2 separate regions of the Homo sapiens genome follow, and region 2 is linked to region 1. Evidence: promoter capture Hi-C in 16 types of primary human blood cells and fetal thymus (Javierre and others, 2016). All regions are on one chromosome and are shown on one strand. The core of a region is centred on a gene start or on the middle of the fragment in contact, and the rest is flanking DNA. Distances in the headings are between cores, read along the strand shown. Region 1 holds the start of N4BP1 (NEDD4 binding protein 1). Region 2 has its middle 51 kb from the start of SIAH1.

Region 1 (7,455 bases), core at 2,006-4,505:
GGATCAAATTTGCTTTCCTGTTCTTAGTTTTTAAAATCAAAATAATGGTTTTCTCCTCCTTCAAGAAAGTAAAACAAACTCCAAAACAAATTCAGAACAAAAAAGCCCTGATTGTGGCATTCAACTCTTACCTATGAGTCTCAAGGGGAGAAAAAAAAGAATTTCTTACAAGTGGGAGGGTTGACTTATGAGTAATACATATCACAAAGATCAACAAGCAGGAGCACATACTAGCAAGAAACTGTAAGACACACCTTTCCCAAACAGCTTGGCTAAACTGTGTGGCAAGGACAGCCAAGAAAACAGGCATTGGGCAGGTCTGGCAGGACCAGCAGGGCTCTTCTGCATAGCAAAGGAGTCATTCTCCATGCTTGCGATGAGTCTTGAGCAAAAGCAGAACCCAGAGGAGGCAGAACGCACAGCAAAGGCAGAGACTACTACAGTGGAGATTTAAGCTGAAAGGTGCTAAACCAGAACATTGGAAAAATAAAGTGGGGTTGGATTAATCGTTTTGTAAGTCAGAGGAGGAGTTTAGGCTGAATGAGACAGGTGACAGGAGGCTCTAGTAGGTTCCAGGGCAGGAGAATGACTTTTTGCAGGAGGATTACTCTAACACAAGTTGAACCAGGGAGGGAGGGAGCAATGAATGAGTAAAGGCAATGGAGCAAGGGAGGGGACACACAGGAATGAAAGTCTTAACCGCAGCAAAGGCAATAGAAAGGAAAGGAATGAATGCACGTAAGAGATTTTCAGAAGAAAAAGCAGGACTTAATCATGTCAAGCTTTTAAGCCCTGAGAAGTGCAGAAGATTGGATAGCTGGGGAGAATGGACGAAGGGGAATGCGCCTTAGACCAGCTGTCTGCAATCCAACTGACTAAAAAAGTTAAGCCCAGGAAAGCAAACTTGGTTCTATATCTACAATGCTGGCTTTCTGATTTGTTTTGTTTTGTTTTGTTGAGACGGAGTCTCGTGCTGTCGCCCAGGCTGGAGTGCAGTGGCGCGATCTCAGCTCACTGCAACCTGCCTTCCGGGTTCAAGCGATTATCCTGCCTCAGCCTCCCGAGTAGCTGGGCCTACAGGCGCGTACCACCACGCCGGGCTAATTTTTTGTATTTTTAGTAGAGATGCCACTGCACTCCAGTGTGGGTGACAGAGTGAGACCCTGTCTCAAACAGAAAAAAATAGGTAAATAAACATACATCCTTTCTTTCTGACATTCTCCGAGCGTTTTATTACTATTAATGGTTTTTTTCCGATTCTCAAGAACACGGTTTTCACCGTGTGACACAGGACAGTCTCAATCTCCTGATCTCGTGATCCTTCCACCTCGGCCTCCCAAAGTGCTAGGATTACAGGCGTGAGCCACCGCGCCCGGCCTACAATGTTTTAAGTTAAGCTTTGAAGAACTACACAGCTGAGTGCCCCGTCTCCTTTAAGGATGTGAAATGCAAACACTCACGATTTTTTGTTAAATCTAAGAACATCAGGAGATACGACTACTCAGATTCAAGGACACTGACATTACTTGACAAAGCAGGATGCAAAAAGAGGGCCCTTCCTGCCCACCCCGCAGACAGGGCTCATCATATGAGAGGCAAGTATCAAGAACGAAGGCTCTGGAAACAAACTCCCTAGGTCTGAATCCTGCTGCCCTACTTAGGAGATGGAAAAACCTAGAGAAACTTGGTTACCTAGGAGGAGCAACATACTGTGTTGCTTTTTGGTTTGGAAAGGGGGGGAAGTAGATAGAGGTGCTGAAGAGGTCTGAAATGCTGATTTAGGCAGAAGGTGAGTCACCACTTTGAGTTTCAGTTTCCCCAGCTGTTAATTAAAAAAAAAAAAAAAGGCGGGGTGGTGGTGGGGAGGATAAAATCTACCTTATTAGAAGCCATAAGGGCTGCACATTCCTTCTGAAGCAACCTGTGATGTTCTTAAGCGTTATGTAAATGTTAGTTGTAGGTAATATCAATACAAAGAATAACGCTATTTTTTGTTAACATATTAAATATCCGGCCGGGGTGGCTCCCGCGTGTAGTCCCAGCACTTTGGGTGACCGAGATGGGAGGATGACTTGAGTCCAAGAGTTCGAGACCTGCCCGGGCAACATAGTGAAATCCCCTACCAAAAAAAAAAAAAAAAATGAGCCGGGCGTGGTGGCGCGCTCCTATAGTACTAGCTACTCGGGAGGCTGAGGTGGGAGGATCACTTGAGCCCGGGAAGTCGAGGCTGCAGTGAACTGAGACCGCGCCACACTGCACTCCACTGTGGGTGACAGAGTGAGACCCTGTCTCAAATAGAAAAAAATAGGTAAACATAAATCCTTTCTTTCTGACATTCTCCGAGCGTTTTATTACTATTAATAGTTTTTTTCCGATTCTCAAGAGGAACTGAGATCCCAAAAAGGCTCAGAACTGCAGTAGTGGAGGCCCGGGACTGGGGGATAAAGGCTTAGGTGGTGGACGAGGCTGCGGGCCCAGCAACAGGCCTTGCGTACCATCCTGGGGGCCGGGGAACTGACAACAACAGGCGACATGCGCAGCGCACCCGATCCGTGCCACACGCTGTGCCTGCGCTTCATACACATCCCCCACTTTCATCCTCGCGACAGCCCTCTGAGGTAGGTACTTTCGTCAGCGCCACTTTACAAATGGGGAAACTGAGGCTCCGGGGATCAAGCCGCTATCCAAGGTCACATGGCTCGCGAGCCGAAAAGGCACGTTCGCTGGCTCCCGAGACTGCGTTCCCAACCCAGGCGCATCGCGGCGGACGGCGGGGGCGGGGAGGAGCGGGAGCCCGGAGACCCGGACCGATCGAGGCCGCGGGCGCGCGGGGGCGGCGGCCGGACTCACCTTGGCGCTGTGCACCGCCTCCTGCGCCCCGCAGAGCTGCAGCCAGATGCGCGCGGGCAGCGGCTCCTCAGCCCCTAGCGCGCCGAGCACGGCTAGGCTCACGCCAAACAGGCCCTCGATACGGCCGCGGCTCTGCTCCAGCAGCTCCGCCTTCTCAGCTGGCGCAGTGAACTCGTCCAGCACCGCCCGGGCCGCCATGGCGGGCGCGGCCTCCCGCGGCGGCGCCGGGGGCCGGCGGCGGCGACGCCCCCTCAGCTTGCTGCCGCTGCTCCCAAGCCAGTCAGGCGGCGTCGGCCCTTCCCGGCCGCCTCGCCCCCGCCCGCGCCCCGCCGCCCGCCCTCAGGCCCGGCTATACCATCCCGCCACGACCGCAGCAGCTTGGCAATTGCTGGCAGCGAACCCCTCCGCCCCTTTGCCGCCGCCGCGGGCCGGGCCCCGCCGCCGCGCATGCGCCCCGGCCGCAGCCGTCATTGAGGCTCGCCGCCCCCTAGGGGAAGGGAGTAGGGTGAAGGCGACGGAAGTTGACGTCACCCTCAGTCGCCATGTTGGTTGAGAATAAAGGGATGGTTTTGGAGGCCTGGGCGGACTTCTTTGATGAGGGGAAACCGCTTTCGCGGGATCTGGTGGATGTAGATATATGGGTTTATAGTTGGGGAAACTTAATTGCCAGGAGGCGAGACTGAGAGTGTCACAGGGATTGGACTTGACCTCAGACATCTTGACGCTCAAACCAGGATTCTAGCAGTTGAGTTATTCAGTTTCACGTTAATCCACAGGCAGACGGGACTTTTCTTTCTCTGTTTCTTCCCTTCCTCCCTACCCTTTTACCTTCTTAGCTGCCCTTCTCACTTTTTTCTCTTTCCCTTTTTATTTCTTTCAGTAAAAATGGTAGCAAGAAGAGAAGAAAATGGGCATACTTACGGAGAATTGAAAATCAAAAAAATGATTAAGATAAATTCAAGAAGGCCGGGCGCGGTGGCTCACGCCTGTAATCCCAGCAGTCTGTGGGGGCAGAGGCGGGTGGATCACTCGAGGTCCGGAGTTCGAGACCAGCCTGACCAAAATGGAGAAACCCCCGTCTCTGCTAAAAAAAAAAAAAAAAAAAAAAAAAAAAAAAAAAAAAAAAAAAAAAATTAGCGCGGCGTGGTGGCACATGCCTGTAATCCCAGCTACTAGGGAGGCTGAGGCAGGAGAATCGCTTGAACCCTGGAGGCAGAGGTTGCGTGCGGTGAGCCGAGATTGCGCCATTGCACTCCAGCCTGGGCAAGAAGAGCGAAACTCCGTCTCAAAAAAAAAAAAAAAGATAAATTCAGGAGAGTGATTTCTTCTGTGAGGGAAGAAAGGGGATATGTTATGGGAGAAGCCCGAAAAGTGGGAGTTTGGGGGCTCACTCATGATCTTCCCTGGGACTGGAGCAAATAAACCCTAACCCCTCTCCAGGTCTGTTTTCTGATCTGTAAAATAAAAGAGTACACTCAGTTATCTCTAAGGCCTTTTCCAGGCCTTTATATTCTCTGAGTCCATGAAAACAGATTGTGGAAGATAAAGTGTTGGATTCCTTTCCTTCAGCTAAATATTGTGGCTATAGTAGATAGGGGCTCTGGGAATATTACCTCTCTCTGTTTTAATTTTTCATCTATAAAATGTAGATAATAATAGTACTTCCTATTGTGAATATTAATACAGCACCCAACACTGTAAGTGCTCACTGAACATTATTATTGCTAACTTAAGCAATATATTTAAGGCCTAATTTTCAGGGAAAATCTTTGTGTGGATTATGCAACCACAGTGAACTTGTGGGCCCAGGAGTCTGTGCCATCTGTGTACATCCCTGCTAGAGGAAAAAGAGGAGGAGCTAAAGATGCTGTAGTTGGAAATACCAAGGGGGAATGGTCTCTGTAGGAGGATTTACCCAAGGTAAAACCTATGAGAGATCCAGGCTTCTGGGGGTTTCCATATGTCTCAGAAACTCAGGTGTGGTCTCCCAGTGCCCCACCAAGAAGTGATTCAGCACAGGGAAGAGAACCACTAGGCTCACAGATCAACAGATTCCTGCTCCCCTGGGCTTTTCCCTTGATGTCCACACAACCAGCAGCCTTGCTCCATCAGGTAGATGACGTGGGATTGGCTGAGGCAGGTCAGGTGGCGAGTGTGGCATTGCTGATGCATTGCTTGCAGAACCGCAGTCTATCAGTAAGGCATGTTGTCAACACAGCATGTTATTTCCTGCCTTATTGCACTCACCTTAAACGGAATTGCTATTGTTCAGTGATTAGACAGGGCTTTCCCCAGGGCTGGTTCCTGTTTGCTCCCAGTGACTTCCCTGCTTGCGATTCTTAATTGCTTAATTGTAAGAGGTGAAGAGGGAGGCTGCCTTGAAAAACACACCACAGTGCCTTCCTCTCCCCACTTCCCTCCAAAAAAATCCCACCCAAAACCAACAGAAGCAGTGCATACACACACCCTTAAAAAATGCTGGGCCAAGAAGCTGTGCTAATAAGTCACTGGGTTGGTGTATAATTGAAGATACATAGTTTTGGGAGGTTTTTCCTCCAGTTTTAATTTAAGACTTGCCAGGCTGGGTGTGGTGGCTCACACCCGTAATCCCAGCACTTTGGGAGGCCAAGGAGGGCGGATCACTTGAGCCCAGGAGTTGGAGACCAGCCTGGCCAACGTAGTGAAACCCCGTCTCTATTCAAAATATAAAAAATTAGCTGGGTGTGGTGGCACATGCCTGTAATCCTAGCTACTCGGGAGGCTGAGGCAGGAGAATTGCTTGGACCCCGGAGGCGGAGGTTGCAGTGAGCCAAGATCGCGCCACTGCACTCCAGCCTGGGTAACAAGAGCAAGATTCCATCTCAGAAAAAAAAAAAAAAAAAAGACTTGCCAGTTCATATTTGATCAGCATTTCCCTTTAGGGAACTCTCAAGGTTTCCTGAGTGTAAGGAACAAGGAGAAAGAGAGAGAGAAAAAAAAAATCCCCTTTCAAGAACTTCCTTGCTTCATGCTGTTTCTCACTCAACCACAACTTCCCTCGGTTAACCAGCCTTGCCTATCTGGCTGGCCTGACCAGCCAGGACAGTCGATGCCAGAGATGAAACCTTATGAATTCTGTATTCTAGATACTTTAGCTGTGTTTTTCCTTAATCTCATAACAACCTCAAGAGCCCATAAAATGGTATTGAGAGAATCACTTATTTTTGCTTCTCATATTTTCAAGGACAGGAGGAGATTCCTATTCCATTCCCCAGCGGGGCCAAGTGTGGAGGAACATGTCTATCTAGCTTTCATTCTCCTTTTCCCCAGAGCAGGAGGAGGATTTCTCTGACTGATAACTTTCTGAGAAGGTGGGGTGCTGGGTTGGACCGCCCTGTACCCTGGTAATGGGCTGTCTGCAGTTGCTGTGTTAGTGACTGGGGGTAAAGTATTTTCACTTCAACCACATCCTCCAGTCTAGCTCTTGTCAGCAATGATGATGACATTTTGATCTCTACCTGCTTTTCTTCCTTAGTTCTGAACTCAGAAGGGGCAGAAAGAGTGTTTATTGGTCTCCTAAAACTCCAACAGTGGTTGCTATTGTTTTTCTTCCTGTTTCAAAGATGAGGAAACCAGCCGGGGGTGGTGGCAGGTGCCTGTAGTCTCAGCTACTTGGAAGCCTGGGGTGGGAGGATTGTTTAAGCCCAGGAGTTCAAGGTGTGCCTGGGCAACATAGCGATATCCTGTCTCTTACCTGCCCCCCCACAAAAAATGTAAATTAAGGGGGAAAAAAGAGGAAACAGAAGAATAGAGAAATTCTGGAATGTTCCACAGAGCTAGTCAGTGAAGTGGTAGAAATAGCCATTTGAATCCAGGCAGTCTGACTGTAAGCAGGCAGCTTGGCTTCAAACTGCATTTTAAAACCTTGTTTTCTTTCCTTCTTTCTCCCCAGTCTCAAGATACAACTTTGAGACAAGCTGCATATGTGTTTCCTGTCATCTTGACATACAGCCTTGGAATGGACTGTGAACCTCCACTCCCTATCCTTCCCCATTCCATTCTCCCATGCCATATGCTCATTTATTTACCCAAACACTCGTCAAGCACATACCATGCTCACTTATCTGGTCATGTATTTCCTTAGAAGCCTCAGGGGCTGGATTTTTTTTTTTTTTTTTTTTTTTGCGATGGAGTCTTGCTCTGTCTCCCAGGCTGGAGTGCAGTGGTGCCATCTCAGCTCACTGCAACCTCTGCCTCCCGGGTTCAAGCAATTCTCCTATCTCAGCCTCCCGAGCAGCTGAGATTACAGGCATGCACCACCACATCCAGCTAATTTTTTTTTTTTTTGAGACGGAGTCTCGCTCTGTCGCCCAGGCTGGAGTGCAGTGGCGGGATCTCGGCTCACTGCAAGCTCTGCCTCCCGGGTTCACGCCATTCTCCTGCCTCAGCCTCCCAAGTAGCTGGGACTACAGGCGCCCGCCACTACGCCTGGCTAATTTTTGTATATTTAGTATAGACAGGGTTTTGCCATGTTGGCCGGGCTGGTCTCAAACTCCTGACCTTGGGCGATCTGCCCACTTCGGCCTCTCAAAGTGCTGGGATTACAGGCCTGAGCCATTGCGCCCA
Region 2 (7,455 bases), core at 2,206-4,705, 170 kb before region 1:
TCCTCATCCACTTAGAGATCACAATAACAATAGTCACAATTGCTGCCTCAATGGAGTGCAGGGGAGTGGCAGTCACTCAAAGATCCTTCCAACACTCTGGCCTGGGCTTGATCATCCCTGTTCTCCAGAGTCAGAGAGGACGAGTGGCTTGTCAGGTCACACAGCAGGAAGTAGCCCAGCTTGGCACAGAACTCAGTTCTGTGGAACTTCAAAGCAGGATGCCAACAGTTAAGAGGGCTATAAAGGTGGCAGAGACACTGTCTTTGCCCTCATGAAGCTGGTAATCTTATTGGCTCTGGGGATGGGGCATTAATATGTAAAGAAGTTAACATAGGGGCAGTGGCTGATCCCTGTAATCCCAGCGCTTTGAGAGGCCAAAACAGGAGGATCACTTGAGGCCAGGAGTTCAAGACCAGTCTGGGCAACATAGCGAGGCCCTGTTCCCTACAAAAATAAACAAACAAATAAATAAAATAAAGAGTAAATAAAAAGTTAGCATATTTATTGAATGCTTATACCTGGCCTGGAGAGATGCTCCCCGGGATAGAGCCCTGAGTCCTGAATCCATGCTGCCGGATTTTGCATTCTCTTTGGCTCAGATGATAGTTGTTTTTGTTTTTTTGAGATGGAGTCTCACTCTGTTGCCCAGGCTGGAGTGCAGTGGCGCCATCTCGGCTCACTGCAACCTCCACCTCCCAGGTTCAAGTGCTTCTCATGCCTCAGACTCCCGAGTAGCTGGGATTACAGGCATGTGCCACCATGCCTGACTAATTTTTGCAGTTTTAGTAGAGACAGAGTTTTGCCATGTTGCCCAGGCTGGTCTCGAACTCCTGGCCTCAAGTGATCCACCCACCTCGGCCTCCCAAAGTGCTGGGATTACAGGTATGCGCCACCATGCCCGGCCTGAAATCACAGTTTTAATGCTGTGCACACTCAGGCTGCAGTTTGTAGAGTTCTGTCAGGCAGAGAGCAGGTGTCCTAGTTTCCTCAATTTTGCACCAACCAAGGGCCTCTGTGACTCCCACCTGGAGCCCTGCTTGTCTCCTCCAGCTTGCACATAAGAGGCAGCTGTGCTGAGTCTTTCTGCCTTGGTGGGGAGGTGAGAACTGCGCAGGGGGACAGGGAGCCTCTGCGGGGGTGGGAGGTCCTCTAATCAGCCTGCCATCAGTTATTGATCAGACCCCCGGGTCAGAACTTCTCCCTGGCCACGAGGCCTGGTTGACCTCTCCAGCCCGATCTGTTTCTCCACGGTCCTCCTTACCCCACTACCAATCCATATTTGCACCTGCCTGAACAGATACGCAGTTGCCGCCTTCCTTGCGTTGTCCACACAGCTCCCCTGCCTGGAAGGCCCTGGCCGTCCTGATCGCCGGGCAGTGAGTTCCTGTCCTTCCTTCACAGGCTGCTCACGCTCCAGTTCTGCGAGGCCCTCCCTGACCTCCAGCCTAACTTTGAGCCCTGCTGTTTTCAATGCCTCTGTTTCTGTCATTTCACTTGTCTTTCTCCTTCTTAGGGAGCCATATTCTTTCCTATGTCCCTGTCCTTTGCATGAGGCATAGTGTCCAGGACACACTCAAAAATACCAAAAAATGAAGGCACGCTCCTTCCCTTCTCTCCCTCTACACCCGGGCCTCATTTAATTATGCACAGACTCTGGGAGTTGGCAAGTATTCACTTCAATTCCTCACTTTACAGATGAGGAAACCAAGACCCAGAGAGAGGAAGTGACTTCCCCAAGGTCACAGGCTGTTGATAGAGTCCAGACTGAACCCAGGTTTCTTTCCTCCCTGTCTTGCACCCTATTCCCTTCCCCATGCCTCTCAGAGTAGCCTTTCTCTTGGGGAAATGATGATTTTATTTAGCCACAAGGACCCTGTGATTGGATTAGGTTGTCCTCAAGACAACAGAGGGGGCCTCCAAGAAAGACATCTTTAATGGTGGAGGAGGAAGGAAGTGTAGAATAAGAATTGCTACAAACTTTGGTTTCCTCCTGTGTAAAACTGGGAGCCTGACCCCTGTCCTGCAGCAGTGTTCTGAGGATATGTGTTGATGTAAGAGCCGAGGTTCTCATTCATGAAAAGCTTATATCACATGCTTCTCTTGCTGGCGGAATATCGCTTCTTCAGTCAAGAGCTTTTATAATCTGGCCCAAATTACCTTTCCAGACTCATCTTATCCTATTCTAGCCCAACAGCTCACACTCCAGCCACATCTGGCTCCTCCCCTGTCCTAACCATTTCCTACCCTTTCCTCCTCTGTACCTATTTCCTCAGCCTGGACTAGCCTTTCCTCTCAATCCAACTATTGCATCCCCGGTCCATTTCTGGGTCCAGTTCAAAGACCACCTCCTCTGAGAAGTCTTCCCTGATAGCCCTCCTTTCTGTGTCTCTGACGGTTTGCTCACTCTTCTCCTTAGGCATGGCTTGGTCATTTCCATTTGGATAAATGTTCCTCTTCCTTTTACCCTGTGGGTTTCTTGAGAGCAGAGATCCTGTGCTGTCAATATCTGTGTTTCCTGCAGCTCTTAGGCAGCTCTAGTACAGAGCAGTTGCCCCATCCTGTCTGTGGTAAGCAAGAAATAAAGGCTTCCTGGGACAGAGTCAATGTGAAGAAAGATAACACCAGGCAGAGCCTTCAGGTGAAGCAGGAACATGGCTTCCAAGAACACTAATCATTGGTTTTGCAGAGCAAACCCCTAGCTGGCTCCTTTGTGTGCCTATTTTGGCCCAACTTTCACGTCAGCACGTTTCCACCATCCCCAAGCTGGAACTTCCCTCTGCCTCTCCGTGACTGACCCTTGCCTCACCAGATGTTTATTTTGCCTCCCAGGCTGAGGAGTTTAGACACTGCTCTTGCAATAGGGGCCCCAGGCAGCTGTGTGACCTTGGCATGTTACTTTGCATCTCTGAGCCTTGGTGCACCTCCTCTGCAAAACAGCAATTTAAAATAGCACCTGACTCCTGGGTTGCTGTGTTAATTAGATGAGCCAAGACATGGGAGGTGCCTAGCCCAGTGCCTGACACGAAGTAAATACTCAATTAAAGATGGAAAAAACAAAAATAAACTCACTTAGTATGTGTTTCCCTCTGTGTTGCCAAAACCTGTTCCTGGACCCTTGCCACCCATCTTGCTGTTTGGCGAGTCTTGCTTGGGGCAGTTTCCAGCTGCCCCCTGCCGGGAGCACCCCTGATGGAAACCTGGGACCCAGGAAGGAGGAGGTGCTGACACGACTGTGAATCCACGGTCACCAAGCTGCCCCTTGCCCAGACTGTGGGTAAAACCTACATAAGTAACAGATCTACAAAGTATTAATTTTTTTTGTTTTGTTTTTTTGAGATGGAGTCTCACTCTGTCGCCCAGGCTGGAGTGCAGTCGTGTGATCTCTGCTCACTGCAACCTCCACCTCCTGGGTTTAAGCGATTCTCCTGCTTCAGCCTCCTGAGTAGCTGAGATTACAGGCACATGCCACCACGCCAGGCTAATTTTTGCATTTTTAGTAGAGACACAGTTTCACTATGTTGGCCAGGCTGGTCTCAAACTCCTGACCTCAAGTGATCCACCTGCCTCGGCCCCCCAAAGTGCTGGGATTACAGGCCGTAGCCACCGCGCCCGGCTTTTTTACTTTTTAAAGATCTAATGTCACAAATGGGAAGAATCCTGCCTTCTGGGAGGCCCTCATGTGTGCCTGGCCCGGAATCAGTCCCATCCAGCAAGGGCATTGATGAAAATTCTCAGGACATCTAACACAAAGTGGTGCTTCCTGGCACTTGTGGCTGCACCAGTACGAGGCTGATCTGCTGCTTGGCTCACCTCCCCAGAGCAGAGCTCCTTTCTGGCCCTCTCTAATCATGGCCCATTTCCAAGAAGAAAATGACAACAAAGTCCTAGGCAAAGCATTGGAGTCCTGGCCTTGGCTTTAACCTCCTGGGACTGATTGCATCCCTCTCTGGCTCTCCCACCTGGAGGGCAATTCCCGCCTGCAGTGGAAAGCAGTAGCTGTGTGCAAGTCTTAAAGTTCTCAGTGGCATATTTAGAAATAACAGAGGGAATTAGGTTTCATAAAACCATCTATTTAAGTGGCTCCAAATTAAGCCCCATTGTGATCTCTCTCTGTCTCTCTCTCTCTCTCTCTCTCTGGTTCCTTATATCCTGATTGTTCATGAGAGGCCCCATAGGACATGTGAGAACACCCCCTTTTTTTTTTTGAGACAGTCTCACTCTGTCGCCCAGGCTGGAGGGCAATGGCACAATCTCGGCTCACTGCAACCTCCACCTTCCAGGTTCAAGCAATTCTTATGCCTCAGCCTCCGGAGTAGCTGGGATTATAGGCGTGTGCCACCACGTCCAGCTAATTTTTTGTATTAGAAACCTTTTTTTTTTTTTTTTTTTTCTGATAAACCAGCAGAAAGGCATTAGTCCTGGTAACTAATCAAGTCAGGAATTGCCGAGAGGAGGGAGAAGGGGAGGTGCAGGGCCAAGGCTGGGACTATTAACACATTTGGATTTTTGGAGGAATAGTTTATTACTCCTCCTCCTCCAGCTCCTTCTATATTCAAGGGTTTTCAAGCGGGAAAAGTTGAGGTCTTGGCCTTGGGTGACTTTCATAGCCACATGACCTTAGCAATGGATTGGTTGATGCAGAACTTCTCATTGATGACTTTGTAAACCCTTGGTTAGCTCACTGCTGTCTTGCTGCTTCTCTGTGTCAGAATTAAGAAACTACTCTAGGTCTTTCAACAGTGGGAGTTTAACACAAGGAATTGCTTACATAGATAATGGAAGGATGAAAGGCTGAACGGGATAGTGAGGAACACAGCTTAGCACCAGCAGGAAGCTTCTTACTCCAAGGTTGAGGAGATGAAGCCCAGAAGCCAGTGTTGGTGGCAGCAGCTAGAACCATGGCAGGGCTGCCCGTGAGAGCTCGCCCCATGGAGGTGAGGGTTGTCTGGCAGGAGTCAGAGCCACAGAAGGGCTTGGAACCATAGATGATACACAGCCACTGTGGAAGATGCAGAGCAAGAGGGGGGAAATGGTTGATCCCCACATCTCACCCTACCGTACTCTGGTCTTGTACCATTTTCTCCCAACACACAAAGCTATGGAGAGCCACTTGACAAGGGAGCCTGGGAAACACAGCTTCCTGCAATATAGAGCAGAACATTGGAAAGGCAGGGAATAAGCTGGGAGCAAACAGTGGGCCATCTGTGTAACACAAGGCTGCTGGATGAAATGGCTGGGAAGTAAGAAAGCACTGCAGAGAGGAGCTGAGGGGGCCATGGCAGGCTGGATCCCATTGAAAGCCTTACAGCAGTGTTTCCCAAAGTGTGGGATGCACTGGGCCACCTGAGCTGGCAAAAAGACCAGGCAGAGCATGAAGGAACAGTGTATCAGTAAGAAAGCTAGTCTATTTTCAATTCTCTTTCCCATCATCTGACGACATTAAGGAGAAAGTCTCTATTTGGTGCTAACCTGTCTTTAACATCACTCTAACATTTTCTAATTTCTTTTTTCTTTCTTTTTTTTTTTGAGACAGAGCTCTGTTGCCCAGGCTGGAGTGCAGTGGTGTGATGTAGGCTCACTGCAACCTGCAACCTCCATCTCCTGGGTTCAAGCAATTCTCCTGCCTCAGCCTCCTAAGTAGCTGGGACTACAGGCATGCACCACCACTCCCAGCTAATTTTTGTATTTTTAGTAGAGACGGGGTTTCACGCTAGCCAGGCTGGTCTCAAACTCCTGACCTCAAGTGATCCACCAGCCTCGACCTCCCAAAGTGCTGAGATTACAGGTGTGAGCCACCGTGCCTGGCCACGTTTTCTCATTTCTTTTTAACTCCAAAAGATAGCAAACCAGACAGGTGTGGTGGTTCACGCTTGTAATCTCAGCGCTTTGGGAGGCCTATGCGGGAGGATTGCTTGAGTCCAGGAGTTCAAGACCAGCCTGAGTATCATAGTGATGACCCCCATCTCTACAAAGAATAAAAAATTAGCTGGGCATAGTGATGTGTGCTTGTAGTCTTAGCTACTTGGGAGGCTGAGGCAGGAGGATCCCTTGAGCCTGGGAGTTTGAGGTTGCAGTGAGCCATGACTGTACCACTGCACATTCCAGCCTGGATGACAGAGTGACACCCTGTCTAAAGCAAAAAGAGAGGAAAACTTAGGTTAAAGCCTTTGGCTGGTACTGGTATAATAGATGCTGCTGGTCCTGCCTAATCCCCGTCACCTAGTTGATACATTCACCTCCCAGCTGCTGTGAATGTTGGCAGCTAGCACTTTACAGCCACACCCTTCTTTTGGAAATTGCCTCACCTGGAAATAGGTGGGAGATTATACCATCATCCCGAGAGGAAGTATGCGGCAACGACTGATTGATGCCAGGCACAAAAGCCCAGCCCTCATGCCTTGAGGTGGTTCAACTCTGGTCCCATTCCTGTTCCAGAGCTTCAGCTGGCCCCACGCCTTTGCTTAGCCTCTTTCTGTTTCCCTCCCTCCTTCACCAGGAGTCCCCCCTGTAAATCACTTGCACAAGAATCCCCACCTTATACTCAAGCCCTGGCTTGACTTCTAGAGAATCTAAGATAGCAGGCAACAGGAGCTAGCTGGAATTGTGTAACTTTAAAAATTATTCTTTTTAATATTTTTGCCTGTGTTGATTTATGATAAGGTATAAAGGTTTTCCATTTATAGTAGTGCTAAGTTTTCTGTAAGTGTAATATTATTTTTAATTTATATATATATATAATTAAATTATAAAGACCATGGGCAACATAGTGAGACCCATCTCTACAAAAATTAGCAGGGCGTAGTGGCATATACCTGTAGTCCTAGCTACTTGGGAGGCTAAGGCAGGAGGATCCCTTGAGCCTGGGAGGTCGAGGCTGCAGTGAGCTAGGACTACACCACTGCACTCCAGCCTAGGCAACAAAGTAAGACCCTGTCTCAAAAAAAAAAAAAAAAAAGGCAGGGGTTGGTAGAAAAAATAAAAAATAAAAAATAATTATCTGGGCATGGCGGCATATGCCTATACTACACTACTCAGGAGGCTGAGCTGGGAGGATCCCTTGAGTCTCAGGAATTCGAGGCTGAAATGAGCTATGATTGCACCACTGCACTCCAGCCTGGGAAACAGAGAAAGTCCCTTTCTCTAATAATATATATGTTATTTTTATTTTTATATTTTAATTTATATATAAATATATATAGGTCGAGTTCTGTGGCTCACGCCTGTAATCCCAGCATTTTGGGAGGCCGAGGCGGGCAGATCACCTATATTAGGAGTTTGAGACCAACTTGGCCAACATGGTGAAACCCTGTCTCTACTAAAAATACAAAAATTAGCTGAGCGTAGTGGTGCATGCCTGTAATCCCAGCTACTCGGGAAGCTGAGGCAGGAGAATCGCTTGAACCCGGGAGGCGGAGGTTGCAGTGAGCCGAGATCTCACCACTGCACTCCAGCCTG

Evidence for each region. The method cuts DNA at HindIII sites, captures the fragments that hold promoters and counts their contacts. A CHiCAGO score of 5 or more calls a contact.
Region 2: a fragment that was not itself captured here is called in contact with the fragment with the promoter of N4BP1 in region 1 in 5 of 17 cell types (neutrophils, monocytes, M1 macrophages and 2 more); the score reaches 9.3 in neutrophils.

Annotation. Positions count from the first base shown.
Region 1 is chr16:48,606,925-48,614,379 of GRCh38, forward strand. N4BP1 (NEDD4 binding protein 1) reads right to left here and starts at 3,256. Exons shown (of 7, transcript NM_153029.4): 1 at 2,851-3,256. The coding sequence starts at 3,048. LOC124903687 (a long non-coding RNA gene) reads left to right here and starts at 3,386. Exons shown (of 2, transcript XR_007065063.1): 1 at 3,386-3,594; 2 at 3,731-4,289. RefSeq lists enhancers at 2,387-2,436, 3,387-3,436, 3,447-3,526, 4,719-4,798 and a silencer at 2,747-3,346. The HindIII fragment of the contact is 6,560 bases long and covers 1,396-7,455 here.
Region 2 is chr16:48,432,306-48,439,760 of GRCh38, forward strand. No RefSeq gene overlaps it. Among named protein-coding and RNA genes, the nearest start is that of SIAH1, 51 kb to the left of the region's middle. RefSeq lists enhancers at 1-326, 138-257. The HindIII fragment of the contact is 2,753 bases long and covers 2,080-4,832 here.